Linked DNA regions of Homo sapiens: region 2 is linked to region 1. The links are contacts of gene promoters, found by promoter capture Hi-C in blood cells and fetal thymus (Javierre and others, 2016). All regions are on one chromosome and are shown on one strand. Each heading gives the region's core, a stretch centred on a gene start or on the middle of the fragment in contact. The rest is flanking DNA. Distances are from core to core; before and after follow the strand shown.

What was found. The method cuts DNA at HindIII sites, captures the fragments that hold promoters and counts their contacts. A CHiCAGO score of 5 or more calls a contact.
Region 2: a contact is called between a fragment that was not itself captured here and the fragment with the promoter of APBA1 in region 1, in 2 of 17 cell types (M2 macrophages and erythroblasts). The highest score is 5.3, in M2 macrophages.

Annotation. Positions count from the first base shown.
Region 1 is chr9:69,670,963-69,676,504 of GRCh38, forward strand. APBA1 (amyloid beta precursor protein binding family A member 1) reads right to left here and starts at 1,409. Exons shown (of 13, transcript NM_001163.4): 1 at 1,191-1,409. RefSeq lists silencers at 1,177-1,256, 1,437-1,486. The HindIII fragment of the contact is 15,920 bases long and covers 1-5,542 here.
Region 2 is chr9:69,880,198-69,885,124 of GRCh38, forward strand. All of the region lies in intron 4 of CFAP95 (cilia and flagella associated protein 95), which reads left to right. It also overlaps the pseudogene RN7SL570P. Among named protein-coding and RNA genes, the nearest start is that of CFAP95, 62 kb to the left of the region's middle. The HindIII fragment of the contact is 1,626 bases long and covers 2,397-4,022 here.

The DNA.
Region 1 (5,542 bases), core at 159-2,658:
ATGCTGACCAAGTGGGCACCAAACATTTCTCCGTGTGATATTTTTCTTCTTTTTAAAAGACCGCCCCCCGCCCCACCGCATCTCTCTATACGTATACACCTCCAGAGTTCATTCTAAAAGAACCAACACAAAGACCATCCATCCTCTAGCCATAAGGTTTTCAGTGCTTAAATGTGGAAGGAGAAGGTCTAGCTAGCATTGAAAGTTGTGGGGACAGGAAGAGGAATCTGATCATTCAACATCCTTCTCCTTCTGGTCAGACAAGAGAAAAACAATAGAAACTGCACAGTCAGGGAGTACAAGACCCTTATGGAACAGGTGCTAAGGAGAGAAGTAGTATCACAGGATGGAAGGCCCCTTCAAAACCAGGTACATTAGCAAGCCCAGAATGTGTAACGGTTATCCTATTTCCCTGCCATGTGCCTCAAAGCAACATGCTCACTTCCACATCCCCATGTCATGAGGCCAGAGGAAGGGGAAGCGAGAATCCCTACACTGGGCCATCCACACGCAGGAGCAGAACAGACACTGTGCTCAGAGTTGCAGGGTCAAAATAACAAACACTGTCCCACAGTCTTAGCCGGTGACATCAAGTAAGGGCAGCGGCAGATCTCTGGATTTGGGGCGCAGTTTGGGGAACGTGGATGCAACCACACGCGTACACACACATATACAGGATTTTACAAACCGGCCCCTATCCCACTGCCTCCCTCCACACTTCACACACCAAGTGCATCCTGCCCACCTCACCGTTTCCATCATCACATTCTTTCTCCAGGAGAGTCAGCCGAGAGATGAGGGGGTCCTAGCGGGGATTCCTGGAAATGTCACCCCCCAACACCTCCGTCCGCCACCCCATCCCCTCTGCTGTACCTTTTACACACACACTCTCACACACTCACTCCTGCCATGACTGTCATCAGGCCCGCCTGCTGCGCCCGAAGCCCGGCATCTCAGCGGGCACCGGACCCCAGGCGTCTCGCTCGCAACGCCGCCTTCCCCCGCCTCGCTAGCTGATGGTTCCAGGCACTGCCTCCTGGATGTCGCCTGCTGCCTCCGCTCCTCCGCACTATTGTTCCAGGCAGCCCCTCTCGCGTCCGGGGGCGCCCTTTGGCGAGGACCCGGGCTCCGTCGGGGGCCGCATCAGCGCCGGGCACCCCTTCTCACCCACCCCTCCCTGGCTGTGGTACCTTGCCTGACAGCTGGGTCCGCGGGCCCGCGGGAGCAGGCGGCGCTAGTGACAGCGCTGGTGCCAAGCCTGGGAATAAAGCTCCGCTCCAGCCGCTGCTGCCTCCAGCGCCACCATCTTCTCCCGCCGCAGCTGCCGCCGCCGCCGCCGCCGCCGGGACCGCAGCCGCCCTCGCCCAGCTCCGGCTCCGCAGCCGCTGCTCGGACCCCTCCGGTCTCGCGGCCCCACCCCCTTTCCCCACCCTCCCTCCCGCCCTCCAGCTAGCTCGCTGGCCCCTCGTGACGCGCGCTGGGGCCGGGCGGGCCTGCGAGGGAGGGCGCGGGGGAGCGCGCGCGCGCACGCCGCCTGCTAGTAGCGCCCCTGCCTCCCTCGCCCACTCGCGTGCGCGCGCGGCCCGCGAGCCCGCGGCGGCGGCGGCGGCACCGCTGATGTCCTCCGTGGGCCGCCGGCTGCAGCGCCCCTGCCCCGGCGCCGGTGGGCGTGCGGCACACCCGCGCCTCTCGCCTTCCCTCGCGTCCGGGTTCCGAAGGGCCCGCCCTGCCTTTCGGAATGGGTTCCACAGCCCCATCCTCTGGCTCCCGGCCGGACGCAAGGAGGGGAAAATGCAGCTGCATCCCCGAGGGGACTGACGGGGGCCTCCACCCTCCTCGGTGGCAACCCAGGTGGTCCCCAGTTTCCTAGCCAGCAGCTGTGGCCAACCTCTGCGCGAAGCAACGGGCCACGCTGCAGGACCACGAAGCCAGGCAGCCGCGTCGACTCCTGCAGGGTGTTCTCTCCGGAGTGACTCCCGAGCTTTCCCGCTTCCCAGGCCCCTTAGATATCGCCTGCGCTTCAAATTCGGAGATTGACGGCGTCTCCGGAATGCGTCGCAGTCCTGCGAGTTCTCCGCCAGGGGGAGAGCCGCGCGGGCTTGGGCCTGAGCGAAGACAGCCGGGCTGCAGCCCTCCAGGGGAACTGCCGAGTCCCGCCGGGGACAGCGGAGAGCCTGCGGATTGTGAAGCCGAGGAAGGCTCGGCTTGGTTTTCCTACCCGCTCCTCAGTTCTGGTTGATCGGAACTTAAGTGTCTTTGAGCCTAGCACAGGCCATCCGCCCTAGATATGGCTCCTAACTCGAGAGGCCACCCTTTGCGGCAGGGACCAGGTGGCAAGTGCTGTGCATTAATGAAAAGCTGTGGGCTAGACAGGCCCCGGGAGGCCTGGGCTCTGGCGCCAGCCCCACCTGTAATTGGCAATGCAATAGCTAAATCATTCCCCCTCTTAGAAACACAGATTTTTCCATAATAATGTTATAATGCACAAAGCCTTGTAGTTTGCAAAGCCCTCTCCGCACATGTATTCTCCAGTAAAATGAAGATAAGCGCTGGTTATCCAGATCCCTTGGGAAATGGATCTTTTACCACACCGTGTTTCCATATTATTTTAAGCACGTCTCTAGAGAAGTCTGGGGGTGTAGCCTAAAGCATTCTGAAAGTCTTGTTTTAGCTTTAAAATTCATATGAATTTTGCATTGTACTTTGTAATTTTTTTTTGCTTTAATAAAACAATAGCTACCTTCTCAAAAAGATTTTAGTAAAATTTAAAATTATATACTAGGAAGATGTCTGCTTGTCCTGTGACATTACTCATATTTTTTCCGGTGAATACTTATTTGGCATATGTACGAGCCAGACATGGTCCTTTTCCACCAGAGCTCACAGTACGCTGAAGGAAATAGGTATTCAACTATCAGACTGGCCAGGCGCGGTGGCTCACGCCTGTAATCCCAGCACTTTGGGAGGCTGAGTCCAGCAGATCACTTTAGGCCAAAAGTTTGAGATCAGCCTGGTCAACATGGCGAAACCCTGTCTCTACTAAAAACACAAAAATTAGCCGGGCGTGTTGGTGCACGCCTGTAATCCTAGCTACTCGGGAAGCTGAGGCACGAGAATGCTTGAACCGGGAGGCGGAGGTTGCAGTGAGCCGAGATCGCGCTACTGCACTCCAGCCTTGGTGTCTCAAAAAACAAACAAACAAATAAAACAATCAGACTAAGTGCAACTGTGATAAATTCTCAACTGCAAAGGCGCTAAGGTGCACGGGAAAACCTAATGTGGACTCTGGGACTAGGTAAGGCTTTCTAAGGAAATGACATTTCAGATCCCCCAGGAGAGGCAGCATTGAGACACTTCCAGGTAAAGGGAAGGAAATGTGAAAAGGCCCAAGCAGGTGGGGCCGAAGTGAGATGAGACTGGAGAGGCAGGCAGACTTTGTGGACCGTTTTTAAATAATGATTTTGTCTTATGAGCCTGGAAAGTCAATGAAGGGTTGCCAAGAGTTGGGAGCAGGCAAGCAGGATCACATTTCCGTTCCTGAAAGATGGCTGAGGTGGTTTGTGAGGAACTGATTCGTGGAGGGTCAGGATCCAGGGCGGAGAGAGTCTGAGCTTATCCTACTTAGTGAGTGTTTAGGGTTTTCTGTTTTTGCACTAACTGCTCTTTTGATTGTTTTTAGTTCTTGCCTCTGCTCTCCTGTGTACGCATCTAGGAGGCTTTCAGAGTGCTTCTCTGTAATAGTTTCTGTTTTGTTACTTTTAATCCACTGCAGTTTTAGGAAGGAAATGAACCCTGTTAGAATTTCAGGTTAAATAAGAGAATATAGGTTCTGAGTGAGAGGCTCTTTTCTGTGCATACACTTATTGCCATTTGGTTTGCTATCTCAGAGATCTTTCTGCTTATTTTCTACTTTTTGTGTTGCCTTTCCAGTTAGACTAGGTTCTTAGATGCATGAATAAGGGTTACATTATTGCTTTAATAATATCCTGGAATCTTACCTCGCAGGATTTTTGTGTAAAGAAAGTTATGTGAAATTTCTCTGCAAAGTATTCAGTGCCATATAAAGAAAGGTAATAATTGTTAGTTATAATGGTAGCTTAGAGACCTCCAAAACTAATTACTTACCAAATGTTCATATGTGGAAATTTCCCTCCCTCCCCCACCCCCATGAAAAACACATATTCCTATTTCTTCTGGATAGCATGAATCATTGTCTTAAGTGCTCTTGTTACTCTGTGCCTTCGCTGGCAGGAAACTCAAAGCCAAATTTTCAGATCATTGTAGGAAATGAGTGGATCCATATGGCATGTAGATCCATGTCTTAATCCCTCCTTTGGTCTTGTTCTATTCTATTTATAGATTTCCTGTGCCTGCTTTATTGATGTTTTTCTTTTTAGTAGATCTCTTATAAGGCACTCCAATCCACCACTCCAATCCACCTTCTCCTGTTAACAGGGTCGAAACTGCTATTCAAGTGTTTCAGGAAGCAGTATATAAAATACTGGCAGCCAGGCATGGTGGCTCATGCCTGTAATCCCAGCACTTTGGGAGGCCAACGTGGGAGGATTGCTGGGGAGTTCAAGACCAGCTTGGGCAACATAGTAAGACCCCCGTCTCTCAAAAAAAAAAAAAAATTAGTGGGCATGGTGGCGAATTCCTGCAGTCCTAGCTACTTGGGAGGCTGAGATGGGAGGATTGCTTTAATCCAGGAGGTTGAGGCTGCAGTAAGCTATAATTGTGCCATAGCATTTCTGCCTGGGTGATAGAGCAAGACCATGTCACTAAAAATAAAACACTGGCAACCTGCCAACCATTGAAGCAGGTAACAATAGTATAGACACTGTGCCAAGTGACTTGGGTTTAAAGTAAAGCCTTAACCACCACTGCATGTGCACCTAAAGTCTCCGTGCATGCCAGTATAAAACCTCATATTATTGGCAAACTTAAGTATGTCTCCCAATGGCTCATAGATAATCTCCTTTAGTTTAATCTCTGAGGTCCCAAACTCCATCAGCCTACACTATACCAATACAGACGGTTCCTGTCTTATGATGGTTCGACTTAGAAGTTTTTGACCTTACTTTTGGGCTTATCAGGGTATTAATTTTTTTTTTTGTCAGTGCCTCACTCTGTTGCCCAGGCTGGAGTACAGTGGTGCAGTCTTGGGTCACTGCAACCTCTGCCTCCCGGGTTCAAGCGATTCTCCTGCCTCAGCCTCCCTAGTAGCTGGGACTATAGGCGCCCACCACCATGCCCGGCTAATTTTTGTATTTTTAGTAGAGACAGGGTTTCACCATTTTGGCCAGGCTGGTCTCAAACTCCTGACTTCAAGTGATCCACCCGCCCTGGCCTCCCAAAGTGCTGGGATTACAGGCGTGAGCCACTGTGCTTGGCCTTAAATGCATTTTTGACTTATGTAACCCCACCATAAGTCAAGGAGTATCTGTATATGTTACCGTCACAAGCACTGTTGGTCACTTGGTAAAAGGACAGAGATTCAAAAACTTTTATTCATTTAGGGTTATTTTTATCAACAAAGACT
Region 2 (4,927 bases), core at 1,960-4,459, 210 kb after region 1:
TAGTCCCCACGTTGTGCTATTAAATACTAGGTCTTACTCATTCTCTCTATTATTTTTTGTACCCATTCACCATCCCACCTCCCCACTATGCCATCCCTTCCCTGCCCTGACTATCCTTCCCATCCTCTGGTAACCATCCTTCTACTCCCTATGTCCATGAGTTCAGTTGTTTTGGTTTGTAGATCCCTCAAACACGGTGAGAACATGTGATATTTGTTTTTTTTGTGCCTGGCTTATTTCACTTAACATAGTGATCTCCTGTTCTATCAATGTTGTTGCAAAAGACAGAATCTCATTCTTTTTAATGGCTGAATAGTGGTTCATTGTCTATAAGTACCACATTTTCTCTATCCATTCACCTGTTGATGAATTCTTAGGTTACTTCCAAATCTTGGCTATTGTGAACAGTGCTGCAACAAACTTGGGAGTGCAGGTATTTCTTTGATATACTGATTTCCTTTGTTTTGCATATATACCCAGCAGTGGGATTGCTGCATCATATGATAGCTCAATTGTTAGCTTTTTGAGGAACCTCCAAACTGTTCTCCATAGTGGTTGTACTAATTTACATTCTTACAACAGTATATAAGGGTTTCCTTTTCTCCACATCCTCACCAGCATTTGTTATTGCCTGTCTTGTGGATATAAGCCATTTTAACCGGCATGAGATGATATCTCATTGTAGTTTTGGTTTGCATTTCTCTAATGATCAATGATGTTGAGCACCTTTTCATATGCCTATTTGCCACTTGTATGTCTTCTTTTGAGAAATGTCTATTCAAATCTTTGGCCCATTTTTTGATAGGATTATTAGATTTTTTTTTTCCTGTAGAGTTGTTTGAGCTCTTTATATATTCTGGTAACTAATCCCTTGTCAGATGGGTAGTTTGTAAATATTTTCTCCAATTCTGTGGGTTATCCCTTCGCTTTGTTGATTGTATCCTTTGCCATGCAGAAGATTTTTAACTTGATGTGATCCCATTTGTCTACTTTTGCTTTGGCTGCCTGTGCTTGTGGAGTATTGCTCAAGAAGTCTTTGCCCAGACCAATGTCCTGGAGATTTTTCCCAATGTTTTCTTGTAGTAGTTTCATAGTTTGAGGTCACAGATTAAAGTCTTTAATCCATTTTGATTTGATTTCTGTATATGGTGAGAGATAGGGGTCTAGTTTCATTTTCTGCATATGGAAATCCAGTTTCCCCAGCACCGTTTGTTGAAGAGACTGTCTTTTCTCCAGTGTCTGTTCTTGGCACCTTTCTCAAAAATGAATTCACTGTAGGTGTGTGGATTTGTTTCTGGGTTCTGTATTCTGTTCCATTGGTCTGTGTGTCTGTTTTTATGCTAATACCATGCTGTTTTGGTTACTATAGCTTTGTAACATAATTTGAAGTCAAATAATGTGACTCTTGCAGTTTTGTTCTTTTGGCTCAGGATAGCTTTGGCTATTCTGTGTCTTTTGTTATTCCATATACATTTTAGGATTGTTTCTTCTATTTCCATAAAAGATGTCATTGGTATTTTGATAGGGGTTGCATTGAATCTGTAGATTGCTCTGGGTAATATGGACATTTTAACAATATTGAGTTTTCCAAGCCATGAACATAAAATATTTTTCCATTTTGTGGTGTTCTCTTCAATTTCTCTCATCCATGTTTTATAGTTTTCATTGTAGAGATCTTTCACTTCTTTGGTTAATTCCTAGGTATCTAATTTTATTTGTGGCTATCGTAAATGGGATTAGGTTTTTTTTAAATTTCTTTTTCAGATTGTTCCCTGTTAACATATAGAAATGCCTTTTTTTTTTTTGAGACCGTCTTGCTCTGTCACCCAGGGTGGAATGCAGTAGTGTGATCATGTCTCACTGCAACCGCTGCCTCCCAAGTTCAAGCAATTCTCCTGCCTCAGCCACCTGAATAGCTGGGATTAGAGGTGTGTGCCACCACACCTGGCTAATTTTTGTATTTTTGTAGAAGCTGGGTTTCACCATGTTGCCCAGGCTGGTCTTGAACTCCTGGCCTCAAGTGATCCACCCACCTGGCCTCCTAAAATGCTGGGGGCATGAGCCACCATGCCTGATCTGCCACTGATTTTTGTATGTTGATTTTGTGTCCTGCAACTTTACTGAATTTGTTTATCAGTATAGTTTCTTTGGTGGTCTTTAGGATTTTCTAAATATAAGATCATGTCATGTGCAAACAAGGATAATTTGACTTCTTCCTTTCCAATTTGGATGCCCTTTATTTCTTTTTTTTGTCTAATTGCTCTAGCTAAGATTTCCAGTACTATGTTGAATAACAGTGGTGAAAGTGGCCATCCTTGTTGTATTTCAGATTTTATAGGAAAGGCTTTCAGTTTTTCTGCATTCAGTATGACACTAGCTGTGGGTCTGTCATATAAAGCTTTCATTATGTTGAAGTATGTTCTTTCTATACTCAATTTTTTGAGGATGTGTATTATAAAGGGATGTTGAACTTTTATCAAATACTTTCTCTGCATCAATTGAAATGACTGTATAATTTTTATCCTTCATTCTGTTGATATGATGTATCACACTGATAGATTTGCACAGGTTGAACCATCCTTGTGTCTCTGGGATAAATCCTGCTTGGTCATGATGAATGATTTTTTTAACGTGTTGTTGAATTTGGTTTGCTAGTATTTTATTGAGGATTTGTGCATCAATATTCATTAGAGATACTGGCCTGTAGTTTTCTTTTTTTGATGTGTCTTTGTCTGGTTTTGGAATCAGGGTAATACTGGCCTCTTAGAATGAATTTGGAAGTATACCTTCTGCCTCTATATTTCAGAATAGTTGAGTAGGATTGGTATCAGTTCTTTAAATGTTTGGTAGAAATCAGCAGTGAAGCCCTCATGTCCTGGGATTTTCTTTACTGGGAGATTTTTTATCTGTGATCTCATTACTTGTTATTGGTGTAAGAGTTAAAGAAAGAGGAAAGAAACACAAAAAGTGGCTCAACAGTCAAAGACAGGTTTATTTTGGAGAATAAACCTGAGAGGGGCTTCTGGCCGATTTCCGTCAGGAGCATTCTCTCATACAGACTAAGAGTATTTAAAGGTTCAGGGCTAGAGAACTTATCATAGGCTTGGAATGTTTCTGTGTTGGGGAGAAGTTTATGTGGGGTTGGAATGACTCTGGTTGGAGGGGAGGTTATCTTGGGGCTGACATCTCTCTGGTTGGGGAGGGGTTTATCTTAAGGTTGGAATGTTTCTGGTTGGAGATGTCATTTGTGGTTTATGAACATGCTGACCTTAGCCATTAGGCTGATGCCCTTTGGATTCAGGCAGTTTTTGATGAAAGTGAACTTTAAAATGGTGGTGTTTGTCCAAGATGGCGACGCTCCTGCTCTGTCAACTACCCTGTTCAGGTTTTGGATTTCCTCATGGTTCAGTCTTGGTAGGTTGTATGTGTCTAGGAGTTTTGCCCATTTCTTCTAGATTTTCTAATTTATTGGCATATAGTTTCCTGTAGTAGCCACTAACGATCCTTTGAATTTCTGCCCTATCAGTTGTAATGTCTCCTTTTTCATCTCTGATTTTATTTATTTGGGTCTTCTCTCTTTTTGTCTTAGTCTGGCTAAAGGTTTGTCAATTTTGTTTATTTTTTTAAAAAAAAACAATTAAAAAAAAATCATTCTTTTGTATTGTTTTCTTCATTTCAAATTCATTTATTTCTACTCTGATTATTATTTCATTTCTTCTACTAATTTTGGATTCAGTTTGCTCTTGCTTTTCTAGTTCTTTAAGATGCATCAATAGGTTATTTAGGTTATTTATTTGAGGTGTTTCTTCTTTTTTGATGTAGGCACTTATAGCTATAAATTTCCCTCTTAGTACTGCTTTCACTGTATCCTTTAAGTTTTGGTATGTTGTGTTTTCATTGTCATTTGTTTTAAGGAATTTTTCAATTTCCTTCTTAATGTTTTCATTAAGCCACTGGTCACTGAGAAGTACATATTTTAATTTCCATGCATTGGTATATATTTTTATGTATTTTTACTTTCAAGCTTCTTTGAAAGTAATTTTATTTTAGATATAAAAGCAGGTAGCTGATCATTAAAAATTGTTTTTATTTTAGAGACAGGATCTCTCTCTGTCACCTGTGCTGGTGCTGCTATAGCTCATGGCAGCCTCGAACTCCTGGCTTTAAGAGATCTCTTTCCTCAGCTTCCTGAGTAGCTGGGAGTACAGGTGCAAGCTACTGAGCCAGCCAGTGTAGGAGTTTTGACCTGCTGCCTTTCTGACCTGGGCTGGTTCACCCCTCCTTAGGCAATCTGGTGGTCCTGCTCCTGGGAGGTCACCATACTGATGTTGAACTTAGTGTGGACACCCCATAGGCATACAGCACTATAGCTCAGAACTCCTGGGCTCAATTGACCCTCCTGCCTCAACCTCCTGAGTAGCTGGGACTATAGACACATGCCACCGAACATGACAAATAGGAGGTTTTTTTTTTAAATACAGTTTGATGTTCAATTTAAGTCTGAGAAAATATTTTCACGGATAGGCTTAACCCCTTTATTTTTATTATAATTGCTAAGATATTTAATTTTATTTTTATGATTTTAATTTGTTTTATGAGCAGAAATAATGTCCCCCTGTTCCTTTTATTCTCCTTTCCTGACTTCTATTAGATTTGTCTTTAAAAAAAAACCCATTTGATGGTTTGAAAGTTACATTTCTAATTTTTGTTGTTTTAATCATTAGTACTCAAACTCTAGTGTACATCAGAATCACCTGAAGGGCTTGCTGAGATATGTATTGCTGGGTCCCACCCCTAGAGTTTCTAATTTAGTTGTTTTGTGGTGGGAACCAAGTATTCGCATTTCTGTTCCCAGGTACTGCTGCTACTACTCAGGAAATCACCACAACCTGAGGGCCTGGCAAGAATTGGTGGTTACCACCCAGGT